3 separate regions of the Homo sapiens genome follow, and all the other regions are linked to region 2. The links are contacts of gene promoters, found by promoter capture Hi-C in blood cells and fetal thymus (Javierre and others, 2016). All regions are on one chromosome and are shown on one strand. The core of a region is centred on a gene start or on the middle of the fragment in contact, and the rest is flanking DNA. Distances in the headings are between cores, read along the strand shown.

Region 1 (4,536 bases), core at 545-3,044, 470 kb after region 2:
TGATGAGGACACTGAGGCTCAGAGAGGCAAAGTTACCTGGCAGAGTCATATAGTCACCCAGGGTATGTTGTGAAGCACCCCCTGGTATACCAGACTTCAAAGCCTTTGTTCATCACACTGTTTGACACTGCTGGAAAGAGGCTCTGAGATTTACCAGCATGCTTCAGTTTCAGAGGTCAGAACATGTGCAGATGAACTAACGGCAGAGGATTCGTAAGCCGAGCCTTTTCTGTTCATTTGTTCCGTACCACATGTAAAAGTTCAATCAGCAAAATCACCTCCGGCCAGCAAAAGAACCACTTCCTGCCCATCTTTTTAGATTGTGTTCTCCTGATGATTTTCAAGGGGGCTCAGAGCCCAGATTAATTCAACAGAATAACAGAGCAAACCAGCTTCATTCCCACAAACATCACGTCCAAGTTGCTATGAGGTGACTTCAGTTCATTATCCGGTTGAGCCTGGAATGGGCAAGCTTCAGGGTGTCCCCACACCCACGGCAGACCCAGGCTCTTGGTGCCCAGATGGAAGGGTGGAAACAGAAGGTCCAGCCCATCTGTCTAATGGTTGTCCCTTGGCCAGCTAGTGGGATCTCCTCAAGAGCTTTGTGTGGCAGCTGCCTCAGCCTGGAAAGAGCTTGGCAAATTAGAAAGGAAAACAAACCCAAAGAGGAAACGCTGCTTGCAGCCCAGGCAGCTTTTGCATTATCACTTTCTCCTCTTTTGTGCTGAGTTTCAGATCTGTGACTTTCAAACAAAAGGGTTTTCTGGCCCAAACCTCCAGCTCGTTGTGAAAAAACCATGCACAAAAGTGGATTCAGCTGGCACAGCCCGTGTGACCTTGTGCCCGTGACTCCACAGCTCCTCTGTTTTCAGTGGGGAAGGAGAGCACAGTAATGAAACACAGGGTGGCTTTGCCATTTCCCAGCGATATGGCCTTGGACAAACATCTTGCCTTCTTTTGACTTCAATATCCATGTCTACAGTAGAAAACAGTAACAGCACTCACTTCAAAGGCTGTCAGGGAATTAAATGAGCTCACAAGTATGGAATCCTTAGAACAATCCTGAGTTCCTGCTGCATGCCCTGTGGGTTCAATGTACACTGTTATTATATTTTCTCATCAGTAAAACGAGAATAGTAATAGCACTTGCGTAGGATTGTTGTGAGGTTCAAATGACCACATGTTTCTGAAGAACTTAGTACACAGTGGGTGCTAGGAACTAAATACCAGATCTCATGCAGAGAGGCTGAGCAGAGATGCCTTTAAGAGGGTTGATTTGGAGACCTTGAATGCAGACAGCCAAGTCTGGTCTCTGCCAATTACCAAATAAGAATTAGACAGATCAGGTCATTAACTTATGCAGTTGATAGTTCCAGGAGGTGATATTTGAGGAAAATGAAAAAGTCAGGCAGGCAGCAGGGTGTGTGGTGAAAACACAGTGGGCTGGGGTCAGAAGTCCTGGCTTGGAATCCTGACGCGACCGTCTGGATGTAGGTAGCCTTGGGCAAATCTCTTCTTCACTTTGGCTTCAATTTCTTCTTCTGTAAAAGGAGAATTTGGTGATGTCCCAAATTCCTTCTAATGCTAATACCAGATAATTTAATGTTATTTTCGGGCATCACTCCCATTCACTGCTAGTGGGAATGATAAAACAATAAATTTATTCAAGTGAATAATTTAGCGTAATCTAGTTCATATGAAGATATGCACGTCCACCTCCATTATGGTGTGTCTCAATAATTTTATACCTGTTCATTCAAAAAATATTTATTGAACCCTAATTATGTCCCAGGTGCTGTTCTAGTAGCTAGGGATACTCCAGTGAACAAAACAGATAAAAATCCCAGCTGTCAAGGAGTTTATGTTCCAACAAGGTAGACAAATCACTCACAAGAAAAAAATTTAAAAAATAAGTGCTTAAGGGAAACTGAAAAAGTAGGGAAGGTTGTGGTTTTGGATGGGGTGTGTCTGTTTCCCCACTGGATGGGAGCATGGCCTCATCCAGGGCGGTACCTGGCACGCAGTAGTTTCTGATTAAAGGTTAGGTGAACAAATGCCCAAATGAGCAGACCCTGAGTCCTGAAAAGACTGATTTGATGCACATGTGTGTAGTCTGCGTATTTTTATCTGAAATGAATTAGCACCAGCAGTTTCCAGAGCAGAGCTGAAATGATTACATTACCATTATTTTAAATCTGAGAAGCACTAGGGAATGAGAACCACATCCTCCTCCCAAACCAGGCCAAACAGAGGAGGCCACAGAGCGGCCTTATTTGCACATTGCTGCCCCCTGGTGCTGGTATAAAAATATGGCCACATTTGCTTACCTCTAGGGTAAAATGAATTAGGCTGGTGCAAAAGTAATTGCGGGCTTGGCCATTGAAAGTAATGACAAAAACTGCAAATACTTTTACACCAACCTAATATCAGTGAGCACACAGCACCATCACTGAAGTATTGGGATTAAATTGTCAGTGTGGTGATGACCACGTTTGTCAAATCCAAAAGTCTGTACAGTATGGCCTTAAGGGGGCAGTGGCTAGAATATTAAGGACTATTTCAGATAAGTCAGTGCAATGATTTTATTTTCACGATGACACATGATGTCTGCTCAGATATCACTTTTTGGGAGTTTATAACTATCCAAATGGATCAGAGCTCATAGAAACCTAAGCTATTTCCTAGTCATAGGACTCCGGGAATGTTTCTTAAGGAGTTCATGTGTAGACTTCAGGGACCATCTGACCTTCTGTTTGAGAACAATGTTCCCCAAATGTGTAAGGAAGTGTTAGATCTAAATAACTGAGGAGTGCTGGGCCAGTTGCCCAAGGTGAGTCCTCCACGAAATGAGACACTTGTGTTCACTTAGCACAGTGGTTCCAGTTTGAATTCTATTTCGTTTATACACACATTCCCCATTTTACCTCATATCAAGGTGGCTGGTAATCAGGTAGTTTCCTAACCACCCTAAGTCCTTGTTTTCTCATCTAAAAACAGGAGAAAAATAATACTTACTAAATAAGGTTTAATCAAAAAGAAAATAGTCATGTGAAAGAAAGTAATAAAATATCAGGCACCCATTAGATGCTTAATAAATGCTTTTAAAAGCAAGCTTGGGAAACACTGACATTGATGGAAACTTACAAAGCATTTCAAGATTCGTCAGTGACAGGAAGACTTCTCTGATGAATTATTCCTGGCACTAAGGTCATTGTAAGATAATGAACACTATCAAACAGTGAAAAATCCTAATAAACTTTGTTTTATTCCAGGTGTGTTTCTATCAGAGTACTTTGAAAACCATTACATTGAAAATGTTGCTATCTTTTGTGTTTGAAGATAACACTATTTGCCCAATTTCTTTTTTTCTTTGGTTCTGATTGAAAATAGTATTATATTATAAAAACTAATGTTTCCTACATTGGGCACCCACAAAAACTGCCTTGGGGCCTGCATCTTAGGGTTCTGCTATGGGATAAATGTTTGTATCTTCCTAAAATTCATGTGTTGAAACCTAACCACCAATGTGATGGTAGTAGGAGGTAGAAATACCGTAAGGTGAGAATGTTTAGTGTCTTATAAAACAGACCGCAGAGAACTGCGCTGCCTCTTCCGCCATGTGTGGACAGAGCAAGAAGGCACCACCTATGAACCAGAAAACAGTCCCCCACCAGAGAGTGGATCTGCAGTGCCCTGATCTTAGACTTCCTCCAGAATTGTGAGCAATAAATTTCTGCTGTTTATTAGCTATCTAGTTTTTGGTATATTTTATGGAAGCCCAAGTGAACTAAGATGGGTTTCTATTTGTAGAATCAACTGCTTTTCCTCTTAAAAAAATTGTAGGTTTTTTTTTATTACTACAAAAGTGATATGTGATTATTGTAAAAAAAAAAATTGAAACATTACAGAAACACATGGTCTGTAAAGGAAACATTTTCCGTAATCCCAACTTTCTTTTAAAGGTTTGGCATATGATTGTGTTCATTTTGTTTCATGAATACACCAACTTATATGCGAGTGCTTTAACAAGAATGGGATCATACTAACATGTTCTTCTGCAATTTGAGTTTTTTTAACGTTCGGCATCCTGGATAAGTTCCACATCTTTCTGCCACTTCTCTCTCTCTCTCTCTCTCTCTCCCTCTGTCTTCTTTTTCTCTCTGTAATTGATGTATAGTGTTCCATGGTGAGGTGTACCTATTGTAACTCTGCAGTTTCCTTTCTAGGTAGTCTGCTGCCTTTATTCAGCAGAAGATCAAAGATCCCACCCATGCATGGTATCTCAAGGACTGGAGGGGGAAAAAAAGACAGCAAGTGGGAGTGCCCTCATTTGAGACTATATTTGAGTGAGCATTAAGTAGTGAGTAGCTGAACCTGTAGAGGCTGAAGGGCCTAGAGGCATTGTGGACAAGGCTCCTTGGCAGCTGAAAGATGAGCGGTGTGCTATGAATCCCACCTTACCTATAAGAATGGTACACTTTAATTGGAGGGTTCTTATGGTTTCTATTTTAAGCTTCATTCATATATCATTTATTC
Region 2 (4,524 bases), core at 1,984-4,483:
AGGTATGGCCATGTCCTGATGTCCTCATGTTGATTCTCACACTAACTTGCTAACTTAGGAAATTTTCTTCTGCCCACAACCAGCGGGAGATCTACAATCACTATTGGAAACTGATATGATTTGGATTTGTGTCTCTTGTAAAATTGTAATCCCCTATGTTGGAGGTGGGGCCTGGTGTGAGGTGATTGGATTATGGGGGTGGATTTCCCCCTTTGCTGCTGTTCTCCTGAGGGAGTTCTCAGAAGATCCAGTTGTTTACAAGCCTGTGGCACCTCCCTCTGCCCTTGGTCCTGCTCGTGCCATGTAAGACACCTGCTCCCACTTTGCCTTCTGCTGAAGTAAAAGCTCCCAGAGGCCTCCCAGAAGTAGATGTTGCCATTCTTCCTGTACAGCCTGTGGAACTGTGAACCAGTTAAACCTCTTTTCTTTGTAAATTACCCAGTCTCAGGCATTTCTTTATAGCAATGTGACAACGGACTAATACAGAAACAAAGCTAGCTTCCCACAGAGAGCTCAGCACACACATTATGTGTGCTGCCTGATGTTTCTGTGACATTGCAGGATGCAGGGGACAGCTAATGTCAACCTGGCCCATGCACCATCCATTTCTGTAGAGACAGAGAACACAGTTTTACCCAAGATGGTTGTGGTGTTACCTTATCTCTGGGAATAGAGTGCCTGGACAAGTTAATAAAAAGGTCATAGTCTGAGGGCAGCACGGAGCAGGGATCCTTGTCCAGCGCCACTTTAAAGGCTTCCCAGATGGCTGTGCAGTTCTTGTTCCTGTGCAAAAGTACAAGTTGGGAAGAACACACACATGCACATCATAATGTGTTGTGAAGTATGCCCATTTGTCTAAGAGCTTTACAAGAGATTTTTCATATAGTAACTGCAGAAGTAGGCTTACAAAAAAGACAACGAATTGTCATGGCTTAGGTGACAGATTCAGAAATCTGACACTGGAATTGTCTCTCTGAAGGCACTGCACAGATTTCTCAGAGCTAAGGAATACAGCCTTGCCCCAGGCTCACGGAGACAAGCAGAAATGGCACCGAGCAGGAGGTGACAAATTCAGTCAACTATACAGCAGGTGCCTCTTCATTTAGACCTAACGGTGGGGCCAGTCTCATAGTCCAGTTCCAGTGTGGAGCTCGGGGACCAGGTGAGGCCAGGCCAGCCAGCAGGATGTGTAGTGTTAGGAGGGAGGCCCAATGCTGCAAAAGGCTTCCACCTCTGGCAAAGCAGGTGCACCCTCCAGTGCAAGCCCCTCTTGAGGTCCATGCTAGTTTTCAAAAAATATTTCCCATAGCATTTGTAACTTTGTTTCTCATACTGGGTGGTGTGTAACACAGGTGGTTCTCTGCTGTTTCTTATTTGCCTGAAATGTGCGACAATAAAAATGATCAGCACAAGAAAGACATCACAAACATAAGAAAAGGGGGGCCACAGAAGGAACAAAAATCAGTAAGAAATGCAGCACTGGCAAGAAAGACCCAAACTTCAGAAATCCTCCAGATTTAGGGGATCTGAAATTTGAATTCTGGAAGGACTGGACTCAAGGAATTCCAACCTGAGATCACATTCTGGGTTCTGAGTATTCAGACTAAACATCTGCTGGGTGGCAATGGGCTGTTACCCAGTTCACCTCTACCCCACCCTCACTTCTAGAGGGATACCTCTCCACCCTCCTTCACACTCACACACACCTCTCACCTCTAGACCACACACACATCCCTCACCTCTAGACCACACACACATCCCTCACCTATAGACCACACACACACACCTGTCACCTCTAGACTACACACACACACCCCTCACCTCTAGAACAAACACACACACATCTCACCTCTAGAACACACACACAACTCACCTCTAGAACACACACACACACACATCCCTTACCTCTAGAACACACACACCTCTCACTTCTAGAACACACACACCCATCATCTCTAGAACACACACATCTCACCTCTAGAACACACACCCCTCAACTCCAGAACACACACACACCCCTCACCTCTAGAACACACATACACACCTCATCTCTAGAACACACACTCTCCTCAGCTCTAGAATACACATACACCCCCTCACCTCTAGAACACACACACCCCTCACCTCTAGACCACACACACATCCCTCACCTCTAGACCACACACACATCCCTCACCTATAGACCACACACACACACCTGTCACCTCTAGACTACACACACACACCCCTCACCTCTAGAACACAGATACACACACACCTCTAGAACACATGCACGCACCCCTCACCTCTAGAACACACACACACACATCTCACCTCCAGAACACACACACCCCTCACTTCTAGAACACACACACCCCTCACCTCTAGAATACACACACCCCTCACCTCTAGAGCGCACGCACACACACCCCCTTCACCTCTAGAACACACATGCACACACCCCTCACCTCTAGAACACACATACAGACACCTCACCTCTGGAACACACACACCCCTTACCTCTAGAACACACACACACATCTCACCTTTAGAACACACACACACACCCCTCACCTCTAGAGCACACACACACACACACACCCCCACCTCTAGAGCACACACACACACATCCACCTCTAGAGCACACACACACCTCCCACCTCTAGAGCGCGCGCACACACACACCCCCCTCACCTCTAGAACACACGCACACACCCCTCACCTCTACAGTGTGTGTGTGCGCGCACACACACACACTCATCTCTAGACCCCGCACAGCGCACCCCTCACCTGCAGACACACTTCACAGCCCCCTCCTCACTCGCCCCCATCGTTCAGGACCATCGCTGTCTCCACACTCACCTCTCCCCTCAAGGCCTCTCTCATTGCCCCCTCACCCCGAACTTTAGCGCCAGTTTTCCCCTCCCCAGGCCCTCCCCACCGTTGCCTCTTTCCGGCTCCCCTTCCACCCGGCCGACTGCCTCACCGCTGCTCGGGACTCAGCAGTGCGCGGTACTCGGCGCAGCGGCCCAGGAAGATGTCCCGCAAGTGTGCGCTGGTGCCCTCCCCGCGCCACCGCGCGCGCGCCCCGCCCGCCGCCAGCAGCAACAGTAGAAGCAGAAGCTGCAGCAGCAGCTGGAGCAGCCGCGATGCCGCGCACCCCTGGGCCGCCATCGGGGAACTTTGGTCCCTCCAGTCCCGTGCTTCCTCCACTCCCCTTCTCTCCTTCTACCAAGGCGGTTCCGCAAACTGATGCAGGGCGGGACTCTCGCTCGGATATCTCGCTGTTTGCCGTTTCCCGTTCCAGACAATTTCAAGACTGAGCGTGGGGCGGGGCGCGGCGGCTCATGCCTGTAATCCCAGCACTTTGAGAGGCCTAGACGGGCGGATCGCTTGAGTATAGGAGTTCGAGACAAACCTGAGTAACATACAGGTGAGAAACCTCCTCTCTACAAAAAAATACAAAACTTAGCTGGTCCTGGTGGTGCGCATCTGTAGTCTCAGCTACCTGCGAGGTGAGATGTGAGGAGGCTTGACCCCAGGGGATCGAGGCTGCAGCGAGCAGTGATTGCACCACTGCACTCCAGCCCTGGGCGACAGAGTGAGACTCTGTCTAAAAAAAAAATTAATAAATAAATAAAATTAAAAAAGAGTGAGCTTGGAACATCACCCAGGACAGGACCAGTGCACTGTGGCCCAGGCTAATCTTGACCGCTGTCCACGGGGAGGGAGCCCCAAAGAAGCCGCAAGGTTGAAGGAGAGGTGAGGAGAGGTCAGTCATCATCAGAAGAAATACTTTTCTGGCTCCAAAGGACGACAACTTTGACAGATGCCCTCTTTCACACCAACCAATAAGTGGTGTTTGTTTGTTTTCAGGAAATAATAACCACAACAACGTGCCAAGCACTTTGCAAGTATAATATTAATTACTTTCCGCAACACCCTTCCTAGCTAAGTTTGTAATTTCTCTCGCTTTAGCAATGGATAAACTCAGGGAAGTTAAGCATGTTCGGCCCTCCAGATTTGCGGATTCATCATCCAAATTCAGCTAACCACGGATGAGAAACATTTGAGGAAAAAAAGAATGCTTGCATCTGTACGGAACATGTACGGACTTTTTTTTCCTTGTCATCATTCCCTAAATAATCCAATGTAACAACTACTTATGTAACAATTACATAGTACTTGATATTACAAGGAATCTGGAGATGACGTGAATTATAGAAGAGGATGTGCAAATACTGTATACTACACCATTTAATATAAGGGCCTTGAGCATCTGTGGATTTTGGTATCCAGGAGGTTCCTGGAACCAATTCTCCATGGATACCTACCGCCGACTGTAACTTGTCAGAGGTCACAATATCCCTTCCTGATAGATGCAAAATCCTGGAGATGTTCAGTTTAAGAGAGCCAGGATTGGCCGGGCGCGGTGGCTCACACCTGTAATCCCAGCACTTTGGGAGGCCGAGGCGGGTGGATCACGAGGTCAAGAGATCGAGACCATCCTTGCTAACACGGTGAAACCCCGTCTCTACTAAAAAT
Region 3 (4,360 bases), core at 780-3,279, 270 kb before region 2:
GTTTAAAAGGAGCAAAATGTCAATTACTCATTTGTCTTTTTTTTAGATTTAACAAATTGTTACATACTTTTCATGACCATTACATTGTCTTTGTAATCCATGATGTAAATACTTCATCTTAGAGATAACATGGTGTTTTTGGTGTATTTATTTCTGTTACAGTATGGAAAATGGTAATAATGGTTATCATAAAGATCATGTATATGGTATTCACAATCCTGTTATGACAAGGTAAAGCAAAGTCTGGAAGTGCATGCCCGCCCTATGATAAACCGTCTCATCTCCTATAGATCAGCACTGAATTTTCTGCATGCTGCTGATGCCTTCACTTCTCTCTGTATGATACTTTATCAATGCTAGTCTCCAATCATGCTCTACATAGTGTTCCATGATGCCATGAGTTTAAATGTTCAGTCGATTTCTAAACAATGGAATTATTCAGCAACTAAAATTTGGTGTCATCTTAAAATGCTATGTATGGCTGTAGATCATTACAGATTAAATGCATGCATACCTTGCATTTAGAATTTCTCTGCACCAAATAACCTGAGTAGTTACAGTTTTCAAAGCTTTTCCTTCCTTCCTTCTTTCTTTCCTTCCTTCCTTCCTTCCTTCTTTCCTTCCTTCCTTCCTTTTTTCCTTCCTTCCAATAAATTAACTGTAACCAACCAGAAAAAGAACCTCAATTATTCCTCCGAAATCTTTATGAATTTACATTCTCTAGAATTAAGGAGCTTCTGTGGTTCTGGATATATCATATGTCAGGTAACTCTGAGCTTTGCTTGCCAGAGGTCGGTCCTCTTCTGAGGCTCTACTAAGAATTCAGACCCACACGTCAGCCAGGGACCTATCTGCTTATAAGAGGTGGAGACATAGTGTGCAGGGCAGCAGGGCAGCAGTGGGCTGTCCTCTTCAGTGGGCGTGATCCTTCCCACGCCCATACAGCTGGCCCGCCAGTGCTCCCCCGAGCCCGCTCCCCACAGTGATGTCTCAGATGCAAAAGGGTGAGTCTAACGTTGGTGCATGGGGGAGATCCACCTTAGAAGGCCCACGCTCCACATGGGAGGCATCCAGTTAAAAGTGCCCACATTCAGGTAAGCCCACAGCTTTGGCTTCACACCAGGTATTTATATTTAGAGCCTCCCAGGCCAGAAGCTGCTTACCAGTCAGGCACATCCTTATCTTAAGCAATATTACCTAGTAACAGTTGATGCTCCACCTTGGTCAGATTTCAAGATGAACAGAACCAGAAAGTCATTAAAATTTGTCCTTTCAAGAGGTAAATGGCTTCCTGAACTTAAAACTTTGAACATTGTAAAAAAATCAGAACTTTTCATTATGATTTTCCATTTAGGGGAAGAGAAGTTAACTGAGTGCATTCCAGCTGCTATAATGAAATGCCTTAAACTGGGTAGCTTATAAACATCAGGGTTTATTTCTCACAGTTCTGGAGGCTGGAATACAAGATCAAGGTGCCATCAGATTCGGTGTCCGGTGAAGGACCACTTTCTCATAGGTGGCGTTGTCTTGCCAAATCCTCACATGGTGGAAAGGGCAAGCTGGCTCCTTGGGGTCTATTCTCTAAGGGCGTTAATGAGAGACTAATGAGGGCTTTGCCTTCATGACCTAAAGCGTCACCGTGATTATGACGTCAATGTATGAATTTTAAGAGTGCACAAACATTCAGATCAGAGAAGAAATGGTGATAATTAAAAAAATCAAGTTCTTGGCCAAGCGCGGTGGCTCATGCCTGTAATCCCAGCACATTGGGAAGCCGAGGCGGGTGGATCACGAGGTCAGGAGATCAAGACCATCCTGGCTAACACGGTGAAACCTTGTCTCTACTAAAAATACAAAAAATTAGCCAGGTATGGTGGCACACGCCTGTAGTCCCTGCTACTTGGGAGGCTGAGGCAGGAGAATCACTTGAACCCGGGAGGCAGAGGTTGCAGTGAGCTGAGATCGTGCCACTGCATTCCAGCCTGGGTGACAGAGGGAGACTCTGTCTCTAAATAAATAAATAAAGTCATGAAATGGCAAATTGACTTCATCTCATCTGATACTTCCAGTATGCAAGGCTTGGTGGCTAGAGTGCTGTGTTGTGACAGAGTTGAAGATCGATTTAAGTATCAATTAGCCAGGTGTGCTCTGGGGAGAGTAGACAGTACGGCTGCCTGCATAATGTCCTGGCCTTCCTTTTTGCGGTGTAGCATGCTTGGAGGGTGTCTTATATATATGGACTGAAATTTTCAAGATCAGAGGACAGCTGTTCTCAATTACCTATGTTGCCCTAACATCGGATCTTCTAGGACTGCTTTGAATTTGTAGAATTGCTTCCTGGTGTTTGCCTGTTGGTTGTGAAGGCACTGAAAGTACTCTCTGTTCTAAGAAGAGTCATCCAGGCTGCCTGGAAGATGCTAGAGAGAGAGATGCAAGCCTGGGTGGAGGCTGCCACAGGCAGGCTTTCTGGAAGCAGTGCTCAAATGGAGTTTGGAGTGCAGGATGTTTATGAGGAGCCATGGTTGTGAAAAAAAGGGGGAGAAGTCAAGGTTGGCCTGCCAAAGCCTTGGCCCGACTAGGCAGGAGCTCTGGATCAAGCATGGCCTGTAGGGAGTTGCCCACACTGGGCTAATCATTACAGATTAGCTAAGTCTTTGCACCCCCTCCTCCCCCAGTCACTGCTCCCAGGGCTGGAGCAGCACTGCCATAGAGCTGTAGGCTCTGCTGTCAGAGTGGTAGGCTCTGACAGCTGGAGGCTCTCTGCTGACCATGCTGCCCCCAGCTGGAGGCAAGTCATTCCTAAAAGGGAATCTAGAAGGCACAACTCCACGGCTCCCTGAGAAGCAGATGCACTGGTAGGCCTGGAAGAATGTGCTGCATCCAATAAGTCCTCCTGCAATTGAAAGGGAGGTGTCAGTGTGCAAGTTGACAAGACAGCCTTTGAGATGCCAGGGTCCTCTCAGCACACCAGTACTGCCACAGACCTTTGTCACTTAGGCATGATCATCACAGCCAACTGGACTCTGGCTAATCCCCAGCTTCAGATCTGAGTGCTGGAAATAGGCAGGCGTCAGCTGTCTTCTGTCTTATGCCACCACGTGAGACCTTTCCCACAAAGGAGGGTAGACTTCCAGTTCTAGCATCTAGAAGAGAATAACCGAGCACCTATTAGTGCCACAGATGTCCTGCGTGTAGCGTCAAAGACTTAATTCTCTAGGCTCAAGAAGGTTGTCGTAGCTCTCCTTATTTACTAGTTTTTACTCACATTGCTGGAACAGCATAAGACTTGATAACTCTTGGATTTAACTTGCTGTACAAGAAAAAAGGCATGATGATGGAAAACAGGAAAATGTTAGAAAACAGCCCTAGTCGGTGTTGAGAAATGCCACTCTTCTCACTTGCTAATGAACATTTCATCTTGGGCTTTTAGTGTTGAAATTCGAACTAGATTAAATGCCATTGTTCTATTAAATACATAAATGAAGCTTTAGGATGATTCTGTGGTCATTCTGCTTACGACAGACATTGGAAGGACTTGTCTTTGTTAAGGGCCTAGCACTTCATACACCTGTGAAGCCTGGGGCTAGGGATATACTAATGTTGGACGTCCTTCCTTAACGGTCCACAGCACACTTGAATTTTTTTCTACTTTCTATATTCTGTGTTCTATAGTAGAACTCCAAGGGTGGGTTGAAGTGTTTTGTTTCAGTAAGAGAAGAATCCCAAAGACTGAGTGACACCTTATGTGAGTTTCGCTGAAGCATCTTTCATGGTAACAATTAAATCGAGACTTGTTTTCATTCCTGCACACCCACCTCCAGTGGGAACCCTGGCAAGTCTCCTGGATGTTCAGCCCGTCTACAGGCAGTCAGTGAAGAATCATAGTTTTGATTTGGTTTATTTGCAGAAGGTTAGGAAATGACATCCCAGAAACTCTAGGGACATTGGGACACCTTTCTTTTCCACCCAGACCCTCCTAGAGGTCCCAGGGGTCTGAGTTGGAGTGGATTCTAGCTCTGCCTCCATGTGTCATTGTGGAAGTGCTATTTAATGTCCTTGAGACTCAGTTTTCTCACTTGTAGAAGGAGGGAATAATAAGAGCTTTGAGGCTGGGTGTGGTGGCTCACGCCTGTAATCCCAGCACTTTGGGAGGCCAAGGCAGGCAAATCACAAGGTCAGGAGTTTGAGACCAGCCTGGCCAACATGGTGAAACCTCATCTCTACTAAAAATACAAAAAATTAGCTGGGCGTAGTGGCGGGCACCTGTAATCCCAGCTACTTGGGAGGCTGAGGCAGGAGAATCGCTTGAACCCGGGAGGCGGAGGTTGCAGTGAGCTGAGATTGCACCACCGCACTCCAT

What was found. The method cuts DNA at HindIII sites, captures the fragments that hold promoters and counts their contacts. A CHiCAGO score of 5 or more calls a contact.
Region 1: a contact is called between a fragment that was not itself captured here and the fragment with the promoter of BST1 in region 2, in 2 of 17 cell types (neutrophils and total B cells). The highest score is 5.5, in neutrophils.
Region 3: a fragment that was not itself captured here is called in contact with the fragment with the promoter of BST1 in region 2 in 1 of 17 cell types (naive CD4 T cells); the score reaches 5.3 in naive CD4 T cells.

The regions. Positions count from the first base shown.
Region 1 is chr4:15,229,461-15,233,996 of GRCh38, reverse strand. All of the region lies in intron 2 of C1QTNF7-AS1 (C1QTNF7 antisense RNA 1), which reads left to right. Among named protein-coding and RNA genes, the nearest start is that of C1QTNF7-AS1, 200 kb to the left of the region's middle. The HindIII fragment of the contact is 2,640 bases long and covers 475-3,114 here.
Region 2 is chr4:15,701,774-15,706,297 of GRCh38, reverse strand. It overlaps BST1 (bone marrow stromal cell antigen 1), which reads right to left and starts at 3,233. Exons shown (of 9, transcript NM_004334.3): 1 at 2,966-3,233; 2 at 657-783. The coding sequence starts at 3,153. RefSeq lists a silencer at 3,215-3,294. The HindIII fragment of the contact is 13,056 bases long and covers 1-4,524 here.
Region 3 is chr4:15,975,266-15,979,625 of GRCh38, reverse strand. PROM1 (prominin 1) reads left to right here. Exons shown (of 28, transcript NM_006017.3): 26 at 163-231. Among named protein-coding and RNA genes, the nearest start is that of FGFBP2, 14 kb to the right of the region's middle. The HindIII fragment of the contact is 2,916 bases long and covers 572-3,487 here.